Regions from separate parts of the Homo sapiens genome. Here all the other regions are linked to region 5. Evidence: promoter capture Hi-C in human tissues and cell types (Jung and others, 2019). All regions are on one chromosome and are shown on one strand. Each heading gives the region's core, a stretch centred on a gene start or on the middle of the fragment in contact. The rest is flanking DNA. Distances are from core to core; before and after follow the strand shown.

Region 1 (2,700 bases), core at 189-2,688, 490 kb after region 5:
ATTCTGATAAATGGCCATTGAGGCAGAGGACTGGGGCAGGGCACCGATCCCTTGAATTCAGTCCAGTATCCAGAGATCCCAAGACAGTGCAGGCACCCGGTGGGACCCAAAGGAACTTGCTGAATACACGCCCCAGCCAGAAACACATGGAAAAAGACGCTCTTCACATATGACAGGATCACTAGGCTCCACGGAGCTGAACCACCTTCTCACTAGTTTCACAACTCGGGGAACACTTCCTCACAGGGTGCTGGTAAATTATTAAAACAGAAGCATCCTCCCCCAAGCAAACAGATGGGATGCACCCAAAAGCAGTCCATGCCTCCACTGCCCCCAGGGGCGGAAAACATGCCCCTTAAAACCTTCCACCGTGCCCAGGTGGACAGAGTCCCCCGTCCTGCCTGATTGTCATGGCCACCACTGAGCGCAGACCTGGGCCCTGGCAGACCCCAGGTCAAGCAGATTTCAGAGCGAGTCCGTCCCCAGCTCCCAGGGGGATGTCCACGGGGGACACAGAAAAGGGGTCTCGGCGGAAGCAACTCCTCAATTCATTTCTCTAGAGCAGGGGCTTCGTTCGAGATGGCGATCAGGCTGGAAGGGGGAGGGACGGAGAGACTCGTGGAGGCTGCCGTTGCATAGCAAGATGATTTTTTTCTAAAATCCAGATTGCATATGCTTATGGCGGGGTGGGGGTTTCGGGTACGTACAGGGGGGCAAGTTTGGAAGCTACCAAGGCATAGCAGGTTGACCGGAGGTGGGGGCAGTGCAGGAGCAATGATAGGCATTTAGGGGGCATCCCTGGGTGTCCAGCTGGGGGGCTTCCCCTTAGCCCCCCTGGCGCCCAAAGGGCCAGAAACGCAGGCGGGGGTTACCCAGGGGCTGGGGTCTTTTTCCTTTTTCTTGCTTTCTTTCAAAAATAATAATAATAATAGGCCGAGGCTTGTCCCGGGTGATAAAAGGGCCCGGCCGGGGCCACCCACGCTGTCATCTTTTGTGCGGGGCGCCGGGGCCGTCTGTGCCCAGCCCCCGCGCGCCCCCGGCCCGGGAAGGGGCCCCCGCTCCCGCCCCTGGGCGCGCCCCGCCATTGTCCGGCCCCGCCGCCCCCGCCCGAAAACCAGCGGGCGCCCCCGGGCCGGGCGGTTAACGCCCCAACCGCCCCGCCGGCCCGGACAAAGCGCGAGGCCCGGCCCGAGCAGGCCGCGCCCGAGGCCTGGGCCTCGAGTCCCGGGCGCGCCCGCAGCCCCGAGCCGCGACGCGGGGGCGGCCATGGCGGCGGGGTCCGCGCTCGGACACGGCCGGGCGGCCTCCCCGTGGGCTCACCTGAGGCGGCGTGCGCGGCCCGGTCCGGGAGCAGCGGCGCGCTCTCCCCCGCCCTCGGCGTCGCACCCCCAGGCCCCGCTCGGGCCGGGCCCCGCTCGGTTGCTGGCGACCGAGCCCTCCGCAAGCGCTCGCGGGGGGGCTTATAAGGCCGCGCGCCAGCTCCGCCCCGACTGCCATTGGCTGCCGGATCCACGCCCGAGCGCCCATTGGCCGGAGCTGACAGCTCCGCCCCTCCCCTCCGCCGGGCCCATCAACACCGCACGGCCCGCCCACCGCGCGCCGCGATTGGGCGGGGACAAACGCCGGCCTCGCCTCTTCATTGGCAGACCGGCGGGGACACGCCGGCGCCCACCCACGTGCCCGCTGACCGGCTCTGTTCTCATTGGAGGGGGCGCACGCCAGCCAAGGCTGCCGCGACCAACCCGACGGCAGCTGGGCCTTGGATTGACAAGGGAGCCTCAGGGCCCGCCCGACGACCGCACAGAGAGGAGCCAGTATTGGCTTGAGGGGCCAGCCCGAGGCGCGGACAGGCTGGGGCAGGTGCCAATCACTGCCCGCAAGCTCCGGGCCCCGCCCTGGTTATCAGGCGGCGGCTGAGTACGTGAGACCCAGCACAGCATCAGCACCGGCCGGGAACGTGCAGGCTGGAGGTTCGAAACCCGTGGCCGGAATGTGGGCTTAGCGTTCCCCAATTTGCAAAGTGCCAAGCAAGGAGACATAGCGATCCGTTTTGCAAAGGAGGAGAACCGAGAACATAGGGTAAAGCAGCAAGAGCCTCCACCCCGCCACCGTAGGTCTATTCCCATCACAATCAACAAACCTTTGCCAAGGGGCAAGGCCTTCGGAATAGTTAGGGTCCCTCTCCCCGAGTTCCCTAAAATGTATGGGAGAGAATGAGCTTTGGTGCTTTCTGACCTGGATTCAAAGCTAAGCCGGGCCCCATGCCTCACTGTGGTTGACCTCCAGCAAAGTAACCTCGCTGAGTCTGTTTCCAACTGTGCAATGGATATGATGGTAGTGGCCACACCCCGTCTACCCGCCTCTTGAGAATGTTGCAAGGATTAAGTGGGATGAGGCACGGAGAAAGATTTGACCCTGTGACTTCACAAAATGAGCATTCATTGTGTACTGGACCACGCAGGGGTGTGAGGCATGCCCCCATTTGGAGTGGCAGGAGTGTAAATTGGGCAATTTGACATTTTCTAATAACATTCTAAGTGCATCCACCACCCGATAACCCAGCCAGCAGTTCTTCCTGGAGGTGATGTACCCAGAAAAAAGGTCTGGAGCTTACACAATTCAAGAATGCCGGCGGCAGGGCTGTCTGCAACTGTTTCCAATGTTTTGCACTAACTATCCATCAGTGGGGGATTAGAGAAG
Region 2 (2,700 bases), core at 104-2,603, 320 kb after region 5:
GTCTGACCCTGTCCCCAACCCGCCGAAGACCTTCCCATGAGGGTTGCATCCAGACACAGAGCTCAGGCTGGCCTGTGTGGCCCCTGGTGCTGGGTGGCCCCTGGCGCTGGGGTATGCTGGGGGTGGTGTGTGATGAACGAGTCTCCACACTCTGCCTGGCAAGGGGAATTAGGAAGACGCATGTCTGAAGTGGCATTCCAGGCCCTGTGGCTCCCAGCAGCCTCTCTGGCCTCACAAAGGACAGCAAGTGCCTGGAGACGGTGTCGGCTGTCAGGTCTTGTTTGTCTCAGGAACCAGAGCACTAAATCCAGCTCCCAGCAGCAGAGCCCCAAGACAGGCTCACCACCCTCGGCACAGCACTCTCCCTGGCTCTGTCCACCCAGACCCGGCCGGCGCACAGGCCTGGGGGGTGACGTCCCCAACCCAGGGCAGCTCTGCTGATGCCTGGACATGCTTGGCATGGGGCTAGGAGCTGGGAGTGCAAAGCATGTGGCCAGGTCCTGTCCTGGGGAGGCTGCATGCCCAGGGGAAGAGAGAAGGGGGGATCTAAGAGATCCGAGGAAAACGGCTGGGCTGGGTGCTGATGCCTGGGATGGCCGTGGGCAGAGGCCAGCTCCCCATCTGGGTGCAGAGGACAGGCGAGGCCAGCATGGAAAGAGCACCAGAAACAGGACCTTAGCCAGGTGCCCAGCTCAGCTAGACAGGCCAGGGTTTGCGGGAGCCCCGCCCGGCCACCCAGGTGGTGTACCTGGGCCTTCACTGCACTCCCACACCACCCGGCCCATCTCAGCGCCCACCAGACACGGGCGCTCCCTGAGGGCAGTGACCCCGAGCCTCCGCAGCCTCCCTCTGCCCCATCCACCATGGCTCATGTTGCACATGGGCACGTTAGTAAGCTTCATTCCAATAAAACCCAGAGACCAGGCTCTGCCTACGGCTGTCAGGAACAAGCCCTCACAACTCGGGGTGCTGGCCAACACCCTGCCCTGCGTGAGAGAGGGAGGCGTGTGGGGTGCCCGGTCCCTCGCCCTCTCCCACCGCCCCTGCCTGGGGTTCTCTGGGACCCGTGAGGCCCGCCTGCCCACCTGGCAGTAGGGGTAGAAGAGCGTGCAGATGGCGCAGTAGGGCTCCGTGCGCGCAGCCGCTGCGTTGAACTTCCTCTCGGCCTGGAAGCTGGCCGCCCTGTTCTTCCACTGCAGAGACAGCAGCGGCCTCAAGGCGTCCGGGTCACTCACATCTTCCTCCCCGGAGAAAGGGGATGCCTCTAGAAGAACAGAGGGGAGAGGGAGAGAGACACTTGAGCCCCCTAAAAACTCGTCCAAGGAATCACCCCAACTGCCCAGGGGATGGCCCCGGGTCTACAGCCCTGGCTGCCCACAGGGTCCCTGGCCCATAGCTCCCCCTCCACCTGCCTCCTGGCTGCCCCATTCTCCACAATGCCCATCAAGCTGACACTGCAGCGTCCCATCCCATCAACAGGAGGGGGACACGTCTGTCTCGGCTGACTGCCACCTGAGGCCAGAGCCCCCAAACATGGTTCCTCTGAGCCCCTCCCCCAACACCTGGTTCTCCCTGGACATCCAGAGCCGTCCACTCACCCAGGGCCTTCTGGGCCAAGGACTGGCCAAACTCAGTGCCCAGCCCTGCCCCGGCTGCCCTACACCCGTCCTGGGGTCTGAGTCTGAGTGGGGGCGTCGGCAGTGACCAGCCGAGACTCAGAGACACTGTCCTTCCTGTCTTAGGTGGGCACAGACTCACTGAACTCAAGGGAGGTGCCAGAGGAGTGCGACAGGGAGTCAGGAGGGGCCGTGACCAGGGCTAGGAAGCCAAGGCAGCCCGCCCCAGGAAGAGCTGCGTGACGGGGACACTCTCCCGGAAGGCAGGTCTGCTGCTGAGAAGCCGCGGCGGTCTCTCTCCCACCTGTTGCCTGTTCCCATTGAACTCTAATGGCCTCCATTGCCAGCTGCCGCACCCCAATCTCCCCACGTCCCCTCCCTGCATCTCCTGTGGACACAGGGGTGCTGTCCCCAGGAAGTGGGGTGCCCACTCCTGTGGCCCAATCCTCAGCCCAACCTAAAGGGGAGCCTGGGGTCCTGGGATCAGCCCAGCTGTGGCACTGCCCCTGGTTCACCTAGAGGAGGGCAGGGCAGGGCAGGGCAGGCTCCCCGAGGTGGAGGCCCAGGTCTCCCATGGTGGACTCAGGAAGCCCTTAGGCCAAGACTCCTCTGAAAACCCAAACCAGACAGTACCGCCAGCGGAGCCCAGGGAAGGCCCTAAGCGGCCCCGAGGCCCTGGGGATGAGAACAGAGCCACTGGCTGCGTCTGTCACTCACAACCCCAGAATGCCTGGGGTTCTGGGGCCGTGATGGTCTCACAGGCAAATGCTCCGGTCTCACCAAAGGGTCACAGTGGGGTGTGGGGAGTGGGGGAGTCCACGGAGGCCCCAGAGATGCCTTCTGGAAGGATACCTGGGTAGAAGGCAAGACCCCTTCCCAAGCCAGCCCGCGGGGGCCCCTGGTCATTCCTCTGTCCCCGTGCCGATTCCTCCACTCCTGGGAGCTCCCGCCCTGTGATCCCACGCGCTTCTAGAACCCTCCTCTCCCCACCCCTCCAATTGCATGCAGGATGAAAGACGCCATCCAGACCATTTTCAGATTCTACATGCATCCCCAATGAAAGGCCGAAGCAGAAGTTGAAAAA
Region 3 (2,700 bases), core at 85-2,584, 280 kb after region 5:
TTTTGGGGGCCACAGAGTAACTTGGGGAGGGTGGGTGGGGTCAGTCCAGAAAGGCGACCAGCTTGGGGAGCAACCAGAAAGGGCCCTTGCTACCCAAACACAGTTTGCTCGGGAACCACAAATCCCACACTGCTTTATTCAGCAAAGACCGCCCACATTTATCTTCTCATCTTCCAGTGAAGAAAACGACAGACATTACAGCAGCTCCATCACCCTCATCAGCTGTAGGACAAGCTGGACCGTGGTGACGAGACTTTGCTCTTTTCCCTTGGAAGGATGTTGGCATTCCTGGAAAAAGGTGCTTATACGTGTTTTGTTTGTTTGTTTGTTTTTTAGACGGAGTCTCGCCCAGGCTGGAGTGCAGTGGCTCAATCTCGGCTCACTGCAAGCTCCGCCTCCTGGATTCACGCCATTCTCCTGCCTCAGCCTCCCGAGTGGCTGGGACTACAGGTGCCCGCCACCACGCCCGGCTAATTTTTTGTATTTTTAGTAGAGACGGGGTTTTACCGTGTTAGCCAGGATGGTCTCGATCTCCTGACCTCGTGATCCGCCCGCCTCAGCCTCCCAAAGTGCTGGGATTACAGGCGTGAGCCACCGCTCCTGGCCTGTTTTTGTCTTTTTTTTTTCTTTTGAGATGGAGTCTCGCTCTGTTGCCCAGGTTGGAGTGCACTGGGGCAATCTTTGCTCACTGCAACCCACACCTCCCAGGTTCAAGCAATTCTCGTGCCTCGGCCTCCTGAGTAGGTGGGATTGCAGGCACGCGCCATCACACCCGGCTAATTTTTATATTTTTAGTACAGATGGGGTTTCACCATGTTGGGTCTCAAACTCCTGACCTGGTCAGGCTGGTCTCAAACTCCTGACCTCAAGTGATCCACCTCCCTTGGCCTCCCAGAGTGCTGGGATTACAAGCCTGAGCCACCATACCCAGCCCTCACAAGCATTTTTGAAACATGAGTTTTGAGATGATATTTCTTTGTGACATCAATAACACCACCCACACCCACAGCGGTTATTTCAGGCTTGTGTCGTGGGGAGGTTTTCAGTTACTAGCACAGCCTGGGGCCATCCCTTTGGAGCTGACAGTCTTAACTCTGAGGACAAACTGGGGTTTCTGGAAAAGAATGAAGCTTTTGCACAAATGGCTCAGTCACCAAGGGTGTGACCTTTCGCTGATTCATCATGATTTTCTTTTCCTGTTGGAGACAGAAATGGATGATTCACTGTGGAGTATATTTAAAAATTCGATCTAAATGCTTCCGATAAGATTATTTGCAGGATTTAGAAAATTTTTATTTTATTTATTTTAAGACAGGATCTTGCTCTGTCACCCAGGCTGGAGTGCAGTGGTGTGATCATAGCTCACTGCAGCCTTGAACTCCTGGGCTCAAGCGATCCTCCCGCCTCAGCCTCCCAAGTAGCTGGGACTCAGGCATGCACCATCACGCTCAGCTAATTAAAAAAAATTTAGTACAGACAGTCTTGCTATGCTGCCCAGGCTGACCTCAACCTCCTGACTTCAAGTGATCCTCCCTCCTCAGCTCTGTGAAGTATTGGGGTTACAGGTGTGAGCCCCATCACTCTCTTTTTTTTTGGAGACGGAGTCTCACTCTGTCATCCAGGCTGGAGTGCAGTGGCGTGATCTTGGCTCATTGCAACCTCCACCTCCTGGGTTCAAGCTATTCTCCTGCCTCAGCCTCCCAAGTAGCTGGGACTACAGGCGCCCGCCACCACATCCGGCTAATTTTTTGTATTTTTAGTAGAGACGGGGTTTCACCATGTTAGCCAGGATGGTCTCATCTCCTGTCCTTGTGATCTGCCCTCTTCAGCCTCCCAAAGTGCTGGGATTACAGGCGTGAGCCACCGCACTCGGCTTTCTTTCTCTCTTTTTTTTTTTTTTTTTTTTTTGATACGGAGTCTCACTCTTGTTGCCCAGGCTGGAGTGCAGTGGTGCAGTGGTGCAATCTGGGCTCACTGCAACATCTGCCTCCCAGGTTCAAGCGATTCTCCTGCCTCAGCCTCCCAAGTAGCTGGGATTACAGGCATGTGCCACCACACCCGGCTAATTTTGTATTTTTAGTAGAGACAGGGTTTTACTATGTTGGTCAGGCTGGTTTTGAACCCCTGACCTCAGGCGATCTGCCCACTTTGGCGTCCCAAAGTGCTGGGATTACAGGCATGTGCCACGACATGAGGCCTTTTTTTTTTTTTTTTTTTAAAGACAGGGTCTCATTCTTTCGCCCAGGCTGGAGTGCAGTGGTGTGATCGTAGCTCACTGCAGCCTCAAACTCCTGGGCTCAAGTGATCCTCTTATCTCAGCCTCCTGAGTAGCTGAGACTACAGGTGCCCACCACCACGCCCAGCTCACTTTTTGATTTTTTGGTAGAGACGAAGTCTTACTCTGTTGCCCAGGCTGGTCTTAAACTCTTGGCCTCAAGTGATCCTCCCGCCTCAGCTTCCTCAACCGTTGGAATGCCAGGCATGAGCCAGCACACCTGACCTGGTTTTTCTCATTTATCAACATCAAACGTAAGAGAAGAAAAAGCTGGGTGTGACCCCTGACCCAGATCTCAGCAACTGACGCTGAGCTAGATGGATGTAGAAACGCAAAAGATTAAACATCAAATCAACCCTCTCACTGACGGGAAATGGCCATCGTGGAATTTAAAAAATAGTATGTTTCAAGACAGTTCTGACAAA
Region 4 (2,700 bases), core at 5-2,504, 300 kb after region 5:
GGAGGGATGGCCTGGCCGCGTCCCCCCGAGCCCTGGCTGCTGGGCCTGGGTTTCTCCGGGTGTCCCAGCCCCCGTCCCACCACAGACACCCAGGGCCCAGTCCTGGGTCCCACCCCACCTCCACCCACTCCCTGCAGGTGACTTCATCCTCTAGTTCCAACACCTGCCAGCTGACGGCCCCTGACCACCTGCCTTGGGGCGGCCTCCCCAGACCCAGCACCTTCACCTGGACGTCTGGTGTTCAAATCCAACCCCCTCCCAGCTCAACGCCTCCTTCCAGGGGCTCGGGTGATCTGCGAATCCTATTGGCTCTGCACTGAAAATGCATCCAGAATCCACCCACTTCTCACTACACCTGACCCCTGCCCTGGTCCCTAGCTTCTGCCCTTACCCCGTCTCCTCCCCACAGCAATCACCAGAGGGCGCCTGTGAGCACCTGAGTCAGGGCCCATCCCTCCCCTGCCCACACCCCTCCATGGCTCCCACCTCCCTCAGGGTCAAAGCCCAAGTCCTTCCCGAGACCCACAAGGGCCTGCACACCCTGCCTCCCCTCCTCCCCCTCTCCCCTGCCTCCCTCTGCTCCAGCCACAGGGGCCTCTTCATGTTCTTGCCGCACACCAGGCACAGGAGGGTCACCTCCCTGAGGGAGGCTCAGGTCTCCCGTGTCCCCTCTGCCGACTCCAGGCCTGGTGGGGCTGGGCACTGAGTGACCCAGGCCAGGACTGCTGGGTCCCAGTGGCCATCCAGGGCCGTGAGCCCCAGCGCCTAGCACGTCTGCCAGCCACCACCACCACAAGCAATGCTCTCGGGGCTCAGATGTAACCAGAACCGGATGGGGGACAGGGACAGGGCAGCTGCTGGCTGGGACGAGTGAGGCCAGGGCCAGGCCTCCAGAGAACTGAGGGGGAATCATGGGGTCCGCTGCCCCAGCCACCCAGCCTGGCCACAGCATGAGGGGCATGACAGCTGCCCCTGGGTGTGTGGGGGTGTGTTGGGGACCCTGGAGAGTGGGAGGGGAGGGACATCCAGCTCTGGAAGCAAACCTTCTCCCGGGAGAACGGGGCGCAGGCAGCCCCACCCCAGGGAGGCCCCAACATCAGTCCCCCTAGCACAGGCTCAGAAATGAAGACACTTGCCGGGGCATGGAACGGGGTTTCGCAGCGTTCATGAACCTTTAATTCATTATGAACCTAGAGGCAGGGACATTAGGCAAAAAATACAGCGTATCCTTCATCTCGGGTGGGGAAAAACCAGGGCACTGGGTTTTGCCGCGTCTTTGCACAGAGTAAGACACAGAGATACCTTCGTGGGGAGAGTGTGCAGCTCCGGCCTGCCCTTCTGTGGCCCATCTGCGCAGGCCGCCCAGGAGCCCACCAGGGGATGGGTGTGACCCCCAAGGGACAAGGGCAGCAGGGGCACCCGCCCGCTTCTTTACAATATAAATAGCATTTTCAAACAACATAAGAATACAGTGTCAGCGCCACGCCGGGCGAGGGCTGCGTGCAGAGGGACACCTCCACGTTTTGGCTGACACCCCCCAACCTCCCCGACCCCGGCCCTCTCCAGGGCAACCGCCCCCCTCCCCCACCAAGGAAATGAAAGGCTTGCTCCTGCGTAACACTCTCTCTGTTTTCCTTAGTCCTCTCTAGCCCGGGGACTGTTAGGACACTCTTTTATAATATAAACATTGCTTTTTTTTTTTTTTGGAGACAGGGTCTCGCTCTGTTGCCCAGGCTGGAGTGCAGTGGTGCAATCTGAGCTGACTGCAGCCTCAACCTCCTGGACTCAAGCAATCCTCCCACCACAGCCTCCCGAGTAGCTGGGACCACAGGTGCGCACCACCACACCTAGCTAATTTGTAAAAAATTTGTAGTGATGGGGTCTTGCTATATAGCCCAGGCTGGTCCCAAACTCCTGCCTCAGCCATTTTTTGTTTTTAATATAAGCAAATTATCTCCTCCATCCCTCCCTGGGGCAGGAGACAGCTAAGGTGGGGAAGGCTCCCCAGAGGGGTGCAGAGCTGGTGAGGGAGAGGCACCTGGAGAAGGCGCTTCCCAGCCTGGGCTGAAGGCCGTTTTTTCTCTATCAGCTCAACCCACTCCTAAGAAGCAGATTCCCCTCAGGTGACAGCAGCGTGGGTGGGTGGAGCGAGGACACCAGGCCTCGTCCCTGCCCGGAAGCAGGCGAAAGGGGCCCCGAAGGCCTGCCTCGGCCCTGTGTCCCCCGACCTGCTCAGGGTTGTACCCGAAGAGCTGGGAAGCTGTCCACACTCACTACCAACCAGAAGGGCCTGGGGGCCTCCCTCATCCTGAGCCATAGGAGGTGCAGGGGTGCTTTGTCTGCAAGGAAGCCTCTGGAACACCTGCGTTTCTCTCAGGTGAGAGAAACAAAGATAGACAAACCCCAGGAGAGAGTTTATTCTGCAAAGGTGGGCGCAGACGGAGGGAGGCCCCAGACCCCCGGGCTTCCCCTGGCCAGGTGCACAGGGGCGGCCACCAGAGAGCCTGGGCCTCCTCCCAGCAGGCACAGAGTGGGCACAGGCACTGGCACCAGACCATCAAAGCCCAGGAGCCGGGGTGAGGCGAGAGCGAGGCCGTGAGTGACCGGGCTGTGCCGAAACCGGGGCGTCCTGCCCCCCCCCCGAGGCTCACCCTCCAATTACCGGGTCTCTTTCCCTGCCTGGTCTGTAGCCAAATCATA
Region 5 (2,700 bases), core at 149-2,648:
TCCTCATTGCACCCCCCTCCCTGCCCTAGATCTTTACTGACCAGGGGCCTCAGGAGGGGCTGAGGAGACAGTGGTATACTCTGCCTCCAGGGACGTGGTGCTGCAGTGGCAGTGGGGACTGGCGCGGCCCAGCAGCTCCAGCCTCCGGGAGCGTAGCTGGACTTGAATGGCCCAGATGGGGGGCCGGTGGCCCGGTAGGGAGGGGTCCTCGTCCCTGAAGCTGTAGGTGGTGGAGTCAAAGCTGTCTTCTGTGGCGGCCACCGACTGTTTGCACACGGGGCAGGAGCGCCGGGGGGCTTGGGAGAACCAGGGGTCAATGCATTTGCAGTGGTAGGTGTGGGAGCAGGGCAGGATCTTGAGTTGGTCGCCCTCCTCATACTCATCCAGGCAGATGGCACACAGGTCGTTGTGCCACGTGAAGGTGCGGACCTGGGCCTTCTGGCAGGTAGACGTCTTCACCGGCCGTCTGTGGCTGCAGCAGGCCTGGGCCCAGAGCCACAGGTGGTTCAGGACAAAGAAGGCTGATACGACCAGGGCCAGGGTACAGCCCAGCACCCAGGACACGGTCAGCACGGGGTGACAGCCCAGGTCGTGGCACGGTGGGTCGTCGGGCAGGAGCAGCGCGTGGGCCGACTTGTTGCAGCCCAGGATGACCCGCAGGTCCTGCGAGGCGGCCTCGCTCACGAACACTGAGGGGATGGCGATCTGGCCCCTCAAGTCCTCGTAGACGTGGGTCATGCTCACGAGGTCGTCGGAGTGGACGTTGTGCACGATGGCCGCCTCGAAGCCGGCGCGCTGGGCGTTCAGCACCTTGAGGTCGAAGGTGCAGTCGTAGCGGCGGATCAGCACGATGGCGCCCAGAGAGCGGTTGCCCAGTCGCGGGGCCTCGATGGGATGGCACGCGTTGGCTGGCTTGACCTCCATCAGGTAGCCCCGTATGCCCTCGGGGGCCAGGGGGACGCCGAACAGCGCCGGCAGATCCGCAAAGTCCACCGAGCTCGAGTTGTCTTCCAGCACGGCCCGTACCACTGCCTGCGCGGGCACCTGGAGCAGCGACAAGACCAGCAAGGCTTTGACTGCCACGAGGGCTCGGCCCGGCCGTGGCCACCCCATGGTCACCCGCTTCGCTGTCTGTGTGCTGCTAGGTCCCACTGGAGGCGGCAGGCATGAGGCCTTTGGGCATCTCCGGGGTCTCCCAGGGGGCCTGTGGCCAGGACGCGAGGGCAGTTGAGTTGGAATGACCGCGTGGCTCAGAGGCAGTGACGCGGCCACTGGGACCCTGCTGGCTCTAGGCATTAAGTGCTCCGGACGGCAGAGCGGCATGCGTCGTGTCTTTGAAGGCCGGTCTCAGGAGGTGCTGGCGCAGGTGGCCTTTCTGGCAGATGACATGGAGACCAGGAGTCACCAGGGTTCTAGATGCCCCCAGCTTCTGTGACATCGCCCTGCTACATTCTGTCCCAGGAGCTGCCAGCTGCCTGGGCCTGTGGCCAATGGATCATTCCTAGGTCTGTGATTTGCCGGTACCCGGGCAAGCTTTGAGATAACTTCTTGAAGGCTCAGGGTATCTTTGGACCCAAGGAGGCCCAGGGATGCTTCAAAAGGGCTGCCGGCCCCCAGCAGTGCAGATTCAGCCCTCACTGTGCGAAGACGCTACCAGCATCAGCTTCTGGAGGTTCCTAGCAACACACTGTAGAAGGTTCAATGTTACCCTTGTCTGAGACTCCAAGAGTGACCCAGACTTGTTCAAGCCACGCCCCCCTACAATGAGATCAGTGCTTAAAACCCAAATTCCTGACCCCCTGTCACCATCCCTCACTCTGCTCCAGCCACACAGATCTCCTTGCTGTTCCTCCAACACACCAGGCAGGATCCTGCCCCAGGGCCTTTGCATGGGCTGGGCCTCCTGCCTGGAAAGCCCTTTCTCTCCGTAGCTGGCTCTTTTATCCGGACTCAGGTCTGAGTCCATATATCCTCAGAGCCCTCCTGGACTTGATTTGGAGGGAGAGTCAAGTGCCAGGGTCAGGGTGGGGCTGGTGGGGGTCAGTGGTCCCAAGTCCGCACCGCCAGGTTGGCCTCCAGGCTTGCACCAGCTTCATTCTCTCTCCCTATAGCATTGCCTCTCCAGCTGGGTCTCCAACTGTGCCCCCTGCCTGAGCTTCAGCCCTGGGCATCAGCCTCACCTCCTCCCCAGTCCCCATCCCCCAAATTTCACACCCTCAATCTGTCTGCAGCCCACTCAAGTCGGATTTCTGTCTCTGCCATTCATAAGCTGTATGACATCAGCTAAATTCCTTAGCCTCTCTGGGCCTCAGCTTCCAGACCTGTAACATAGTCTTTCCCATGCTCTAAACTCTCCCATGGCTCCCCATTGCCCTCCAGATAAAGCCCACACTCTTCTCTGTGGCCTACATGCACCCCTGTGGTTGGGCGCCTGCCAATCTCTGAAGCCTGGATGATTTGCAATGTCCCAGAGGCATCTTGCTTTGTTCACCTCTAGAATTTTGCAAATGCTGTTCCCTCTGCCTGGAACAGAATTCTTGCTCCTCAACTTCACTTTGCCAGGCTGACTACTTAGTCTTTAGATTTTCTGTGTTGGCCTAATACCTCTCAGAGCAGCCCTCAGCCAGTGACAGATGGGAGGTGGTAGATAAATGCCCCCACTCCCTCGTCCCTCTTATGGGACAAATCGAAGTATGTTCT

The links. The method cuts DNA at HindIII sites, captures the fragments that hold promoters and counts their contacts. A contact is called where the count stands out against the background at its distance.
Region 1: the fragment with the promoter of KDM4B here is called in contact with the fragment with the promoter of ZNRF4 in region 5 in 1 of the 25 tissues and cell types used here (IMR-90 fibroblasts).
Region 2: a fragment that was not itself captured here is called in contact with the fragment with the promoter of ZNRF4 in region 5 in 3 of the 25 tissues and cell types used here (IMR-90 fibroblasts, liver and thymus).
Region 3: a contact is called between a fragment that was not itself captured here and the fragment with the promoter of ZNRF4 in region 5, in 2 of the 25 tissues and cell types used here (bladder and heart left ventricle).
Region 4: a fragment that was not itself captured here is called in contact with the fragment with the promoter of ZNRF4 in region 5 in 2 of the 25 tissues and cell types used here (IMR-90 fibroblasts and lymphoblastoid cells).

The regions. Positions count from the first base shown.
Region 1 is chr19:4,967,851-4,970,550 of GRCh38, reverse strand. KDM4B (lysine demethylase 4B) reads right to left here and starts at 1,438. Exons shown (of 23, transcript NM_015015.3): 1 at 1,321-1,438. RefSeq lists silencers at 1,265-1,564, 1,875-1,974. The HindIII fragment of the contact is 14,440 bases long and covers 1-2,700 here.
Region 2 is chr19:5,132,447-5,135,146 of GRCh38, reverse strand. KDM4B (lysine demethylase 4B) reads right to left here. Exons shown (of 23, transcript NM_015015.3): 14 at 1,086-1,264. Among named protein-coding and RNA genes, the nearest start is that of PTPRS-AS1, 44 kb to the left of the region's middle. The HindIII fragment of the contact is 6,554 bases long and covers 1-2,700 here.
Region 3 is chr19:5,171,719-5,174,418 of GRCh38, reverse strand. No RefSeq gene overlaps it. Among named protein-coding and RNA genes, the nearest start is that of PTPRS-AS1, 4.7 kb to the left of the region's middle. RefSeq lists a silencer at 283-474 and an enhancer at 556-1,755. The HindIII fragment of the contact is 5,637 bases long and covers 1-2,700 here.
Region 4 is chr19:5,152,052-5,154,751 of GRCh38, reverse strand. It overlaps KDM4B (lysine demethylase 4B), which reads right to left. Exons shown (of 23, transcript NM_015015.3): 23 at 1,154-2,700. Among named protein-coding and RNA genes, the nearest start is that of PTPRS-AS1, 24 kb to the left of the region's middle. RefSeq lists a silencer at 469-528 and an enhancer at 286-786. The HindIII fragment of the contact is 6,421 bases long and covers 1-2,700 here.
Region 5 is chr19:5,454,115-5,456,814 of GRCh38, reverse strand. It overlaps ZNRF4 (zinc and ring finger 4), which reads right to left and starts at 1,398. Exons shown (of 1, transcript NM_181710.4): 1 at 1-1,398. The coding sequence starts at 1,323. The coding sequence ends at 34. The HindIII fragment of the contact is 14,927 bases long and covers 1-2,652 here.